4 separate regions of the Homo sapiens genome follow, and all the other regions are linked to region 1. The links are contacts of gene promoters, found by promoter capture Hi-C in blood cells and fetal thymus (Javierre and others, 2016). All regions are on one chromosome and are shown on one strand. The core of a region is centred on a gene start or on the middle of the fragment in contact, and the rest is flanking DNA. Distances in the headings are between cores, read along the strand shown. Region 1 holds the start of CAPN8 (calpain 8). Region 2 has its middle 26 kb from the start of DISP1. Region 3 overlaps LOC102724046 (a long non-coding RNA gene). Region 4 overlaps TLR5 (toll like receptor 5).

The links. Contacts are between HindIII fragments. The CHiCAGO score rates a contact against its expected background, and 5 or more counts as called.
Region 2: a fragment that was not itself captured here is called in contact with the fragment with the promoter of CAPN8 in region 1 in 1 of 17 cell types (fetal thymus); the score reaches 5.1 in fetal thymus.
Region 3: a fragment that was not itself captured here is called in contact with the fragment with the promoter of CAPN8 in region 1 in 2 of 17 cell types (total CD4 T cells and naive CD8 T cells); the score reaches 6.0 in total CD4 T cells.
Region 4: a fragment that was not itself captured here is called in contact with the fragment with the promoter of CAPN8 in region 1 in 4 of 17 cell types (naive CD4 T cells, naive CD8 T cells, total CD4 T cells and 1 more); the score reaches 7.8 in naive CD4 T cells.

The regions. Positions count from the first base shown.
Region 1 is chr1:223,664,336-223,667,032 of GRCh38, reverse strand. It overlaps CAPN8 (calpain 8), which reads left to right and starts at 1,332. Exons shown (of 21, transcript NM_001143962.2): 1 at 1,332-1,623. The coding sequence starts at 1,387. The HindIII fragment of the contact is 20,763 bases long and covers 1-2,697 here.
Region 2 is chr1:222,787,696-222,790,392 of GRCh38, reverse strand. No RefSeq gene overlaps it. Among named protein-coding and RNA genes, the nearest start is that of DISP1, 26 kb to the left of the region's middle. The HindIII fragment of the contact is 741 bases long and covers 935-1,675 here.
Region 3 is chr1:223,092,522-223,095,218 of GRCh38, reverse strand. LOC102724046 (a long non-coding RNA gene) reads left to right here. Exons shown (of 2, transcript XR_007066892.1): 2 at 745-2,697. Among named protein-coding and RNA genes, the nearest start is that of TLR5, 49 kb to the left of the region's middle. The HindIII fragment of the contact is 1,439 bases long and covers 626-2,064 here.
Region 4 is chr1:223,124,816-223,127,512 of GRCh38, reverse strand. All of the region lies in intron 5 of TLR5 (toll like receptor 5), which reads left to right. Among named protein-coding and RNA genes, the nearest start is that of TLR5, 17 kb to the left of the region's middle. The HindIII fragment of the contact is 9,495 bases long and covers 1-2,697 here.

The sequences.
Region 1 (2,697 bases), core at 83-2,582:
CTTAGAACAACATACATGTATTCTGTCACCGTTCTGGAGGCCAGAAGTCCCAAGGCTGTGAAATCGAGGTGTTGGAAGGCCCACATCCCTCCAGCGGCTCTAGGGGAGAATCCATTCTTGCCCCTTCCAGCTCCTGTGGCTGCTGGTGTTCCCTGGAGTGGGGCAGGATCTCGCTAACCTCTGCCTGCCTCATTTCATCACCTCTCCTTTTTGTCTATTGTCAAATCTTCTTCTGCCTTCCTCTTAGGACACTTGTGTATTTAGGGTCAGGATAATCTTCCCATCTCGAGATCCTTAACTTAGTCATAGCAGCAAAAACCCTTTTCCCAGATAAGGGACTATTTACAGGTTCTCAAGATGAGGACCTGGTATCCTTGGGGGACCATTTTCTAGTGTGCCACAAACACTGAAGTTCAAAAAGCATTGGTGTGGTTGACATCCTTCGGGTAGACCAGATGTAGGAAACTGGAGCCCAGAGAGAAGTGACTAATCCAAGGTCATACAGCTTGTAACTCACTTCTGAGATTGGAATCAAGGCTCCTGATTCCAAGGCCTTTCTGGGAATCCTGGCTTCAAGGAATAGTGATACCTGACATTCACTGAATGTTACTTCATACTGTTCTAAGCAGATGACATGTACTATCTCATCACTCTTCCGAACAACCCTTTGTGGTAGGCTCTCCTATGCTCTTCCAGTTTATAGATAAAAAAACTTAGGAGAAAAGAGGTTAAACAACTTGCCCAACATGACAGAGCAAATTACCGGGGGAGCTGGGATAGAAACCGAGGCAGTCAGAGGCCAAAGCGTTCACTCACAGGTGGAACCTCCTCCAGTCAGGCTTATTCCAAATCTGGCCTGTGAATCACTACTCTCTGGTATTTTTTGCCTTCCTAGGAAATATGCACCAAAACATTTCTGGCAGGAAAGGAGGCCCCTGTAACTACTTGCCTTCTTCCTGCTCAGAGCCATGCCTCCAATTCCTTGATGAATATTTGCTTCAAGCTGCTCAATAAGCCTTCTCATCTCAGTCAATGGGCTTGAAGCAAGGTAAGCAGGTCTTGCAAAGAGGTGTGTGGAGGGAATGCCGGGGTGGGGTCAAGATCCTAATGGATTTCTTAGGCTAATGGCCTGGGATGGGCCCTGGAAAGTTCCCAGACCCCAAATTATTTGCAAAAGGCAGAAGAAGAAGGTGGGGCAGATTGGCCTGGACCTTGGGTACATATTTGTCCCTGGCCATGACTCACTTCCTTCTGGAACAGGGCCTCAGGTGAAATGTTTGTCTGCTCCACCTCCTTTAGTGCCTTATAGCTCCCCTCCCAGTGGAGCAGGTGTCTGAGAGTACAGTGCAGCCCTGCCCTTCTGTCCACCCTACAGAGCCCACGGCCATGGCAGCCCAGGCAGCTGGTGTATCTAGGCAGCGGGCAGCCACTCAAGGTCTTGGCTCCAACCAAAACGCTTTGAAGTACTTGGGCCAGGATTTCAAGACCCTGAGGCAACAGTGCTTGGACTCAGGGGTCCTATTTAAGGACCCTGAGTTCCCAGCATGTCCATCAGCTTTGGGCTACAAGGATCTTGGACCAGGCTCTCCGCAAACTCAAGGCATCATCTGGAAGCGGCCCACGGTAAGGAAGCGGGCTTGCTGTTGAGTGACATACAAGGTGGAGGGGCCTTACATCTGATCAGGAGGAACTGAGGGAGAAGTTGAGGCTGTGGACCCTAAGTGTCTGGATCTCATATTTCAGATCCCTCCACCACCACCTTTTTTAATTTTATTTTTTTGAGATGGAGTCTTGCTCTGTCACCCAGGCTGGAGTGCAATGGCATGATCTCAGCTCACTGCAACCTCTACCTCCTGGGTTTGAGTGATTCTCCTGCCTCAGCCTCCCGAGTAGCTGGGATTACAGGCATGTGCCACCATGTCTGGCTAATTTTGTATTTTTAGTAGAGATGGGGTTTCTCCATGTTGGTCAGGCTGGTCTCAAACTCCCAACCTCAGGTGATCCATCTGCCTCAGCCTTCCAAAGTGCTGGGATAGCAGGCATGAGCCACTGCATCTGGCCCCCCCATCACCTTTTGAACTCTTATTTTTTTTGAGGCAGAGTCTCACTCTGTCACCCAGACTGGAGTGCAGTGGTGCGATCACAGTGCACTGCAACCTCAACCTTCCTGGGCTCAGGTGATTTTCCTACCTTAACCTCCCAAGTAGCTGGGATTATAGGCACGTGCCACCACACCCAGCTAATGTTTACATATTTTTGTAGAGACAGGGTTGTGCTGTGTTGCCCAGGGTGGTCTTGGACTCCTGGGCTTAAGCCATCTGCCCACCTCAGCCTCCCAAAGTGTTAGGATTACAGATGTGAGCCACTACACCCAGCCTGAACTCTTGTTCAGAGATGGTGAGGTATAGAGAGAAGAGCATGGATGAGCTTTGGAACTAGGTAAGATAGATTTGAATCCTAGCTCTGCCTGTGTTGTTTTGGGCCGGTAAACTCTGTGAACCTTAGTTTTCTCATCTGTAAAATGGCATTTACTGGCACCTTATTTTTCAGGGTTGGTATGAGAATTAGAGATAAATCTCAGAGCATAGTGCCCAGAACATAATAGATGCAGAATACGTAGTTGTTATTACTGCATATGGTCCCTGGGCCAGTGCACAATGGAACAACTCAGTGCTGGATGCAATCAGCTGGCAGGTA
Region 2 (2,697 bases), core at 56-2,555, 880 kb after region 1:
ACCAGGTCCCTCCTCCACACGTGGGGATTACAGTTAGAAATGAGATTTGGGTGGGGACACAGAGCCAAACCATATCACTCCCACAGGCCCCTGGCAACCACCATTTCTGTTTTCTGTTTCTATGATTTTGACTACTCTAAGTACCTCACATAAGTTGAGTCATACAATATTTGTCTATTTGTCCCTGGCTTATTTCATTTAGCATAATATCCTCAAGCTTCATCCACCTTATAGCATGTGTCAGAATTTACTCTCTTTTTGGAGTTGAACAATATTTCATTGTAGGTAATTAAAACGTTTATCCATGCATTCATTGATGGACACTTGGGTTACTTCCATCTTTTGGCTCTTGCAAATAGTGCCTCTATGAACATGGGTGACATAGTTTGGCTCTGTGTCCCCACCCAAATCTCATGTTGAATTGAAATTTTCGCTTGTCAGGAGAGGGGCCTGGTGGGAGGTGATTGGATCATGGGTGTGGATTTCCCCCTTGCTGTTCTCATCATAGTGTTCTCACAAAATCAAAAAATTTTAAAACACAAAATAGTTTAAAAGTATGGCACTTCCCCCTTCTCTCTCTCTCTCCTACCACCATGTGAAGACCTGTCTTGGTTCCGTTTTGCCTTCTGCCATGATTGCAAGTTTCCTGAGGCCTCCCCAGCCATGCGGAACTGTGAGTCAATTAAACCTCTTTTCTTCATAAATTACCCAGTCTCAGGCAGTTCTTCATAGCAGTGTGAGAATACAATGTGTGTACAAATATCTCTGAGTCTCTGCTTACAGTTCTTTGGAATATATATCTAGCAGTGGAACTGCTACATACTAGGTAATTCTATTATATATTTTTTGAGAAACTGCCATACTGCTCCATACTTCCAAGTTTTAATAAGTCCATATTCTTCTATTAGTTTCCTAAGCTCTAGGGAACAAAGCTTCTCCCTGAAGCTGCTTCCTTTCTGATACCTTAGTTATTTTTAGTTCTTTAATACCTATTTAATAGTTAGTTGTATTAAGTTGCTGCTCTTAAAATAACAGTTGTGATTAGTCTTTGCTGGAGATTAATTTTGTGGGAGGTAAACTTTACAAATTAATATTTAGTTATAGAGTATTCAGATTGCATTATGACTGGATTTGAGGAACAATTAATAGTATTCTGATTGGATTCAGATAGCTGTGTCCACTATTATGTGACAAATCAAGGACAGGCCCTTCAGCACATCCTCCAAGGGCTTCTCATGCACTGGGCCACTCCCACTTGGCCCCAGATCAGTTTTCCAGCCATATTCTTCATTCACCCTACCTTCTGCTCCAATGAGACCTCTTCCCATTCTCCCCACAAAGTCTTCAGCCTGCTCACCCTATTTCCTCCTCTTACATAGGAACAGCAGAACAGATGACTGGGTGCACCTGTTAGGTGCTGGACACTGCGGTAAGTGCTCTCATGCATGTCATTTCATTTTTTACTCAGAGCAACCTTGTGTCTTAGTATGTTCGGTCTATTATAACAAATACCATAAACTAGGTGGCTTATAAACAGAAATTTATTTCTTGCAGTTCCAGAGACTAGAAGTCCAAGATCAAGGTGCCAGTAGATTTGGTGTCTGGTGAGGACCTGCTTTCTGGTTCATAGTACAGCACCTCCTGACTGTGTCATGATGAAAGGGGCAAGGAAGCTTCCTTGGGCCTCTGTTGTAAGGGCATTAATCCCATTCATGAGGGCTCTGCCCCAGTGACTCATCACCTCCCCAAAAGCTCCACCTCCTAATATTATCACCTTGGGGATTGGGATTTCAACATACAAATTTATCAGGGGACAGAAACATTCAGACGATAGCACCTTGTGTCATCATTTTCCTAATTTTAGTCATAAGAGAATTAAAACTCAGAGAGGTTAAGTGACTTTCCTATAGTCACACAGCTAATTAGTTTGACAGCCAAGATTCCAGCAGCCTTAATATCTTTTTCCAGTGCTATCTATTTGTCAAAACCCTATCTAGTTTTCAACACTCTGGGAACATTCCACCTGCTCCATTAAGCCTTTGCCAGTCCTTCTATGTGGAATAAAATCTTCATTTTTCCGTTCACCAATAGCACTGTGTCTGAACCATTTTTAGAGGTGTTACAACATCATCTTACTTAGATGGAGTTTCTGTTTACTATATTTTTGTCTCCTTGAGGGCAGGCATCATGCCTTCTTCATCTTCACACTCCCACCACTGGAACTGAGCAGAGTGCCTTGTATATTATAGTACCCAATAAATGTTGATGAGCTTGAACCTCTAGGGATTACTTAGGGAGATTTGCACCACCAGGATTCATCTGTTTGGAAAATGGCTAGTTGGTTACCCTGTGACCCAGTGTTTGACTCTTCGGGTTTTGTAGGAGTCCGTATCAGTACAGTCAGACATTCCTTTTCAAGTGCTGCAAACATATGCTGTTCACAAAGCTCACTGGAGGATCTCACATCTGAAATAACCTCCCTCAGCTGTGGGGCCACACCCGGGGTTTGGCTGCCTTGAAGTGGGAGGCGTAAGGCAAATAATAGTGTTTAAGTCATTTGTTTTGTGTGGTTTCTATGTTTATTGGGATTCACTTGACCAGCCAATGTGGAATATTATATGTATAACATACATTATAATGACTATTGTTTATCTCCTTATGTGCAGCTACGGAGGACTTTGAAGGGATGTGAAAAAA
Region 3 (2,697 bases), core at 96-2,595, 570 kb after region 1:
GGGTGTGGTGGCTCACGTCTGTAATCCCAGCACTTTGTGGGAGGCCAAGGCAGGTGGATCACTTGAGATCAGGAGTTCAAGACCAGCCTGGCCAACATGGCAAAACCCTGTCTCTACTAAACACACACACAATTAGCTGGGCATGGTGGCATGCACCTGTTAGCCCAGCTACTCAGGAGGTTGAGGCATGAGAATTGCTTGAACCCAGGTAGTGGAGGTTGCAGTGAGCCAAGATAGCACCACTGCACTACAGCCTGGGCGACAGACTGAGACTCTGTGTCAAAAAAAAAAAAAAAAAAAGTTATCATTTAGAAGACATGTGACTGACATGTATGTAAATAAAATGATAAGGAGAATTTGCTTTAAAATATTTCCATAGAGATAGGTGCAGGGAGGAGGAACAAATGAGATAAGATTGGCCATTTGTTGGTCATTGTCGACACTATGTAATGGGTACATGGGGGTTCATTATACTATTCTATTTTTGTGTATGTTCAAAATTTTCTACTATTAAAAGTTTTTTTAATTTTAAAATAAAAAATAAGTAAAAATGGGAAATTTAGAGGTAGACACTCATGCAGGAAAAGTGCCAGGTGAAGATGAAGGCAGGGATCGTAGTGAAGCTTCTACAAGCCGAGGATCACCAGCAAACCACCAGAAGCCAAGGGAGAGGCCAGGAACAGACTCTCCCCACAGCCCTCAGAAGGGTCCAACCCTGCTGACACCTTGATCTTGGACTTCCAGCTTCCAGGACTGTGAAACAAGACATTTCTTTGGTTCAAGCCACTCCCTTAGTGCACATTGTTATGGCAGCCATGGAAAACCATCCACAGAGGGTCAGTTCCTATGGAGGTGGGGTGAGTGACGAGATGTTCCTGACTGGGCTGACAACGGAGGACGAGAGAGCTTGGGTGTGGATGGGAAAATAACTAGAAACTTCCCTTGATCTCTCAGCATTCTGTTCCATCCCTGTCACTTCGATGTCTCTCTTTCTTGAATATGGAAGCAGCCCTGGGCCCAGCTGCTGCAGGTGGCCAGGAAGGAGCCTGGGAGGATGACGGGGTTCCTGATCTGATAGAACTGGGCTGTGACTAGGCAGAACCCTGTTCCACCACACACACCCCAGTGGAGGTCAGTACCCCAAATCTGACACCAGGATGTAGCATGTCCATGGAGTCTGTCTGCTGACACCTGTCCCACCCTCCCCTGGCCCGTAACTTTGAGAGATACTGCAATTCCTACCGATGTTGCTGCCATCCTTTATTCAGCCCATTATCAGAAGTTATGACACATTGCAAAATGCTCAGGCTAGTTGAATTTCTGCAACAGGGCAAGGCGGTTAAATCCTGTCCTTCCTGGAGTCTCATTGACCAGGCTTTGAATCCCAATTCTACCATGGATTAGATTTGCAACTTTGGCAAATTGATGAACTCTTCTGAGCTTTGGACTAATAATAGGGTTTTGTGAGGAATACCTGAGATAATGCATGTACAACACCTTGCATGTTGTTTAGCACCTACTAGAAATGCAACCAACTCTAGCTGTTATCGCTAGTTTTTCTCTTGCTCCATCTCCATTCCTGAGATGTGCATGGCTACTCTGTGTTTGTTGTTGGGAAGAGCCGTAGACAGTCGTATCCTCTTCCTGAGAATGGTAACTGAGCTGCCCCCTTGGGACTGTCCAGGGGCTGGCCATTAGCCCCACGAGGCAGCAACAAAACCAACAAGACAAGTCTGTTTACTCTTCTGGTCTATAATTTAAAATGTGTTTGATGCTACTTTTTTTTTTTCTTTTTAGGACGTTCTGTATCTGTGATGAATGACCCCTGCATACATTATATCTTTCAGTAAAAACAGTGGTGTTTCAGTAGTGTTACTAGCTAAGCTGCTTAACTCTCACATTACAGACGTCAGTGAAGCCCCTTGGTAGGTAGTGTCTAAAATTAGATTTATCTGCTTATTTACACAATTATACTCTCATGAGTTTGAATGTTGGGGAAAGATCAAGAAAAAGACCAGATCACTAGATGGCAATAGCACACAAGAGCTTTATTTGGATGAAGCTTGGACAGAATGCATGGAAGGGGAAAGTCCCTTGCAGCAGAAGACCTTCCAGAGGCAGTGGCAGGGCCACCACCAGAAGAAAAGGGCAAGGACACTCCCAGGGGAGAGGAGGATCAGAGAGGAGGTTACAGGTCTAAGAGATGTCACAGGTCTAGAAGAAAAGAAAAGGAGCCAGGTGCAGTGGCTCACACCTGTAATCCCAGCACTTTGGGAGGCCCAGGCGGGCAGATTGCTGAGTTCAGGAGTTTGAGACCAGCCTAGGCAAACATGGTGAAACCCCATCTCTAAAAAAAGATTTAAAAATTAACCAGGCCTGGTGGCATGTACCTGAAGTCTCATTTACTTGGGGGGCTAAGGCTGGAGGATCGTTTGAACCCAAGAGGGTTCATGGTGGGGAGCATCATGGTGAGGAGTCTCTGGGTCAGAGAGCTCCAAAGGACAGCAGCCATTTGGGGTCTTTTGTAGCCCTGAGGTTCGTCTTACCTATGGTGAGAGGGTGTCGGGTGTAGTTTTGCAAATTATCGAAGCAGGCAGGCTCTAAATGGGCAAATAATATTTGGCCTACATTTAAAGCAATTGGATGTGCAAGAATTTGAGTTTGGTGCTGGCAGGCTTGAGTTAACGGTCCTGGGCT
Region 4 (2,697 bases), core at 92-2,591, 540 kb after region 1:
ATGCTGTATTATGCAGCTAGAGAATGTATTTGTCCTGGAAGAGTTCACTTTGTTCACTGCCCTCGAGCCTTTATCCAAGGCTAAACCCACATGCTGTACCTACTTTTGGAATTGGTCCAGGAATTTTATACCTGTGTGAATTTGGAGAAACTCTCTCAGACACCCATTTGGAAATGCATTAGTGTTTTTCTCAGTGAGTCCTCCATGCTTGCTGTTCCAATGGCCCTCCAGGTTTGGGCCCAGCACCTGCCAGGAGAAGCATTCCCTCTATAGCTTCCACCTGACCACAGCCAGCCCAAGCCCTGCTCAGAACCCCAGGCCTGCCAGCGAGCCTGTGACTGGAATTATCTATTAGGGATCAAGCATTAACTTGACACAGGAGCAGCCCTGGCTCAGCTGGAGGCATCCGCATGCTGTGGTGCCCCAGGAACAGAGGCACCCCTGAAATGCAAGCTGTGTGTTTGCTGCAGAGACACCATGGCCCATAACTCCCCAAGCATAAGTGAGCAGCTCTGCTGTCCAGGCAATGAAGTCAAGAAAGGGAACCAACCCAGCTAATGGCTGGGATTAAAGCTAAATGAATTCAGCTCAAATGAAAGGGATACTGACCCTTCTCCCTCTGGCCTCATTAACTTAATTAACAGTGCTTGGCAGGAGTATTGAAGCCTGCATTGATTGTTCTGTTTCTGTTTTTCCCCCTCAAAGCCCTAGATACAAGTTAAATCAGCCTTAATAATAAAAACCCAATACTCAACAGCCCTCAGATTTTCTTACCAGCCCTTCTTCCTCTAAGAGAATCACTTGGTTTCTGAGTTGGAGGGGATCCATTAGACCAACACTTCTCAGAGCATGGCCTGAGACCACTAGCTTCAGAGTAACTGGGATATGGCTATAAAATGCACTTTCCAGGCCTCAGAGGCCTGTGGAACTGGAATATTGAGAAGTCCAGTTTGGGTATTTGTAGTGGGTTTTGGGGGTTTAATTTAATTTTTTTAATTGTGGTAAAATAGACATATAATTTTCATTTTATAAAAAATGTCCATTTTAATAATTTTTAGGCAGACAGTTCAGTGACATTAAGTACATTCACTACTGTTTGTCTCCAGAATGTTTTCATCATCCCAGACTGAAACTCTGCCCATTAAACGCTAACTCCCCATCCTCCCCTCCCAGCCCCTGGTAACTTCTGCTCTGCTTCCTATCTCTGAATTTATCTATTCTAGATATCTTGTAAGTGGATTCATGCAATATTTGTTCTTTTGTGACTGGCTTATTTTACTCAGCATAATGTCTTCAAAGTTCATCCGTCTTGTACCGTGTGTCAGAATTCCATTCCTTTTTAAGGCCGAAAAATATCCCATTATATAGACAACAAATTTTGTTCATTTATTCATTCATTGGTGGATATTTGGGTTGTTTCCACCCTTTGACTATTGTGAGTGATACTGCTATGAATATTGGTGTGCAAATATCTGTTGAGCTTCTGCTTCCAGTTCTTTTGGGTGTACACCCAGAAGTGGAATTGCTGGGTCATGCGACAGTTAGTTCTGTGTTTCATTTTTTGAGTCAGTACTGTTTTTAAGCAGCCCACATGGTTCTAAGCTGCAGTCAGGGTTGCAGCCAGAAGACCAGGTGATCAGACTCTCTGCTGGTGGAGTCACCTGAAGACTCTGAACAACCCTGGATGCCCAAGCCACACTCCACACCAACTAAATTTGTAATTTTTTAAAGTCTCCTGGTGATTCCGGTGTGTAGCCAAGTTTGAGAACCATTGGTTTCCATCAGTGATTCTCAAATTTGAGTGTGTATAAAATTCACACAATGGCTAAGGATACAGATTCCTGAGAGAGCACACCACCACCCCCCCACCAACACCACAACCCCCACCGCCACCACCATCACCACCAACCACCGCCAATCCCAAAGAGGCTCATTTAATGCATCTGTGGTCAGTCTGGGCTTCCTGGGTCTGAAGACTTCCCAGGTGATTCTAGTGTGTAGCCAAGGCTGAGAGCTACTAATCTTGTTAAGTCTTTCAATGAAACATGAGAACACTGAGAGTGTGAAAGGTGACACACTCTGCCCAAGTCCCTGAGCTCGTTAGGTTCTGAGTCTGCACTCATTCCCAGGGCTGATTTTCAAGACAGTCCCACGGGTTCTCCATACTCAGCCTTGCAGGTGCAGGGGGTAGAATCTTATATAGAACCTGCATCTTTTCTACTCTTAATTTGAACTGTAATCCTTGAATTAGAGTGTAGTCAGTGCTGCTATAATGCTTGTTTTGGAATGTAAATTTGTTTCTAACGTGATTGATGTATTAGGGAACAATATTAATGTGTTAGGGAAGACTATTGATATGCTGGAGAATAATATTAACATATTCAAGAATGTGAATTTCACATTTGCTTATGTGCAATTTCTTGCATGTAAAGGCAGAAAACTGCACCCAGCTGTGCCAAAACACAAAAGAATACACAAAATACACCTCCAATATTAGTCAGCTACCTCATTCTCCATGTGTGATTTGAGCCACATGCACCCACATCTGTTGCTGTAACTTCCCCTCTGATATCAAACAACCCTTCTTCCCCCATTCACAATAACTCACTGGCGGAGTGCGGTGGCTCAGGCCTGTAATCCTAGCAATTCTGAAGGCTGAGGCAGGTGGATCACCTGAGGTCAGAAGATCGAGACCAG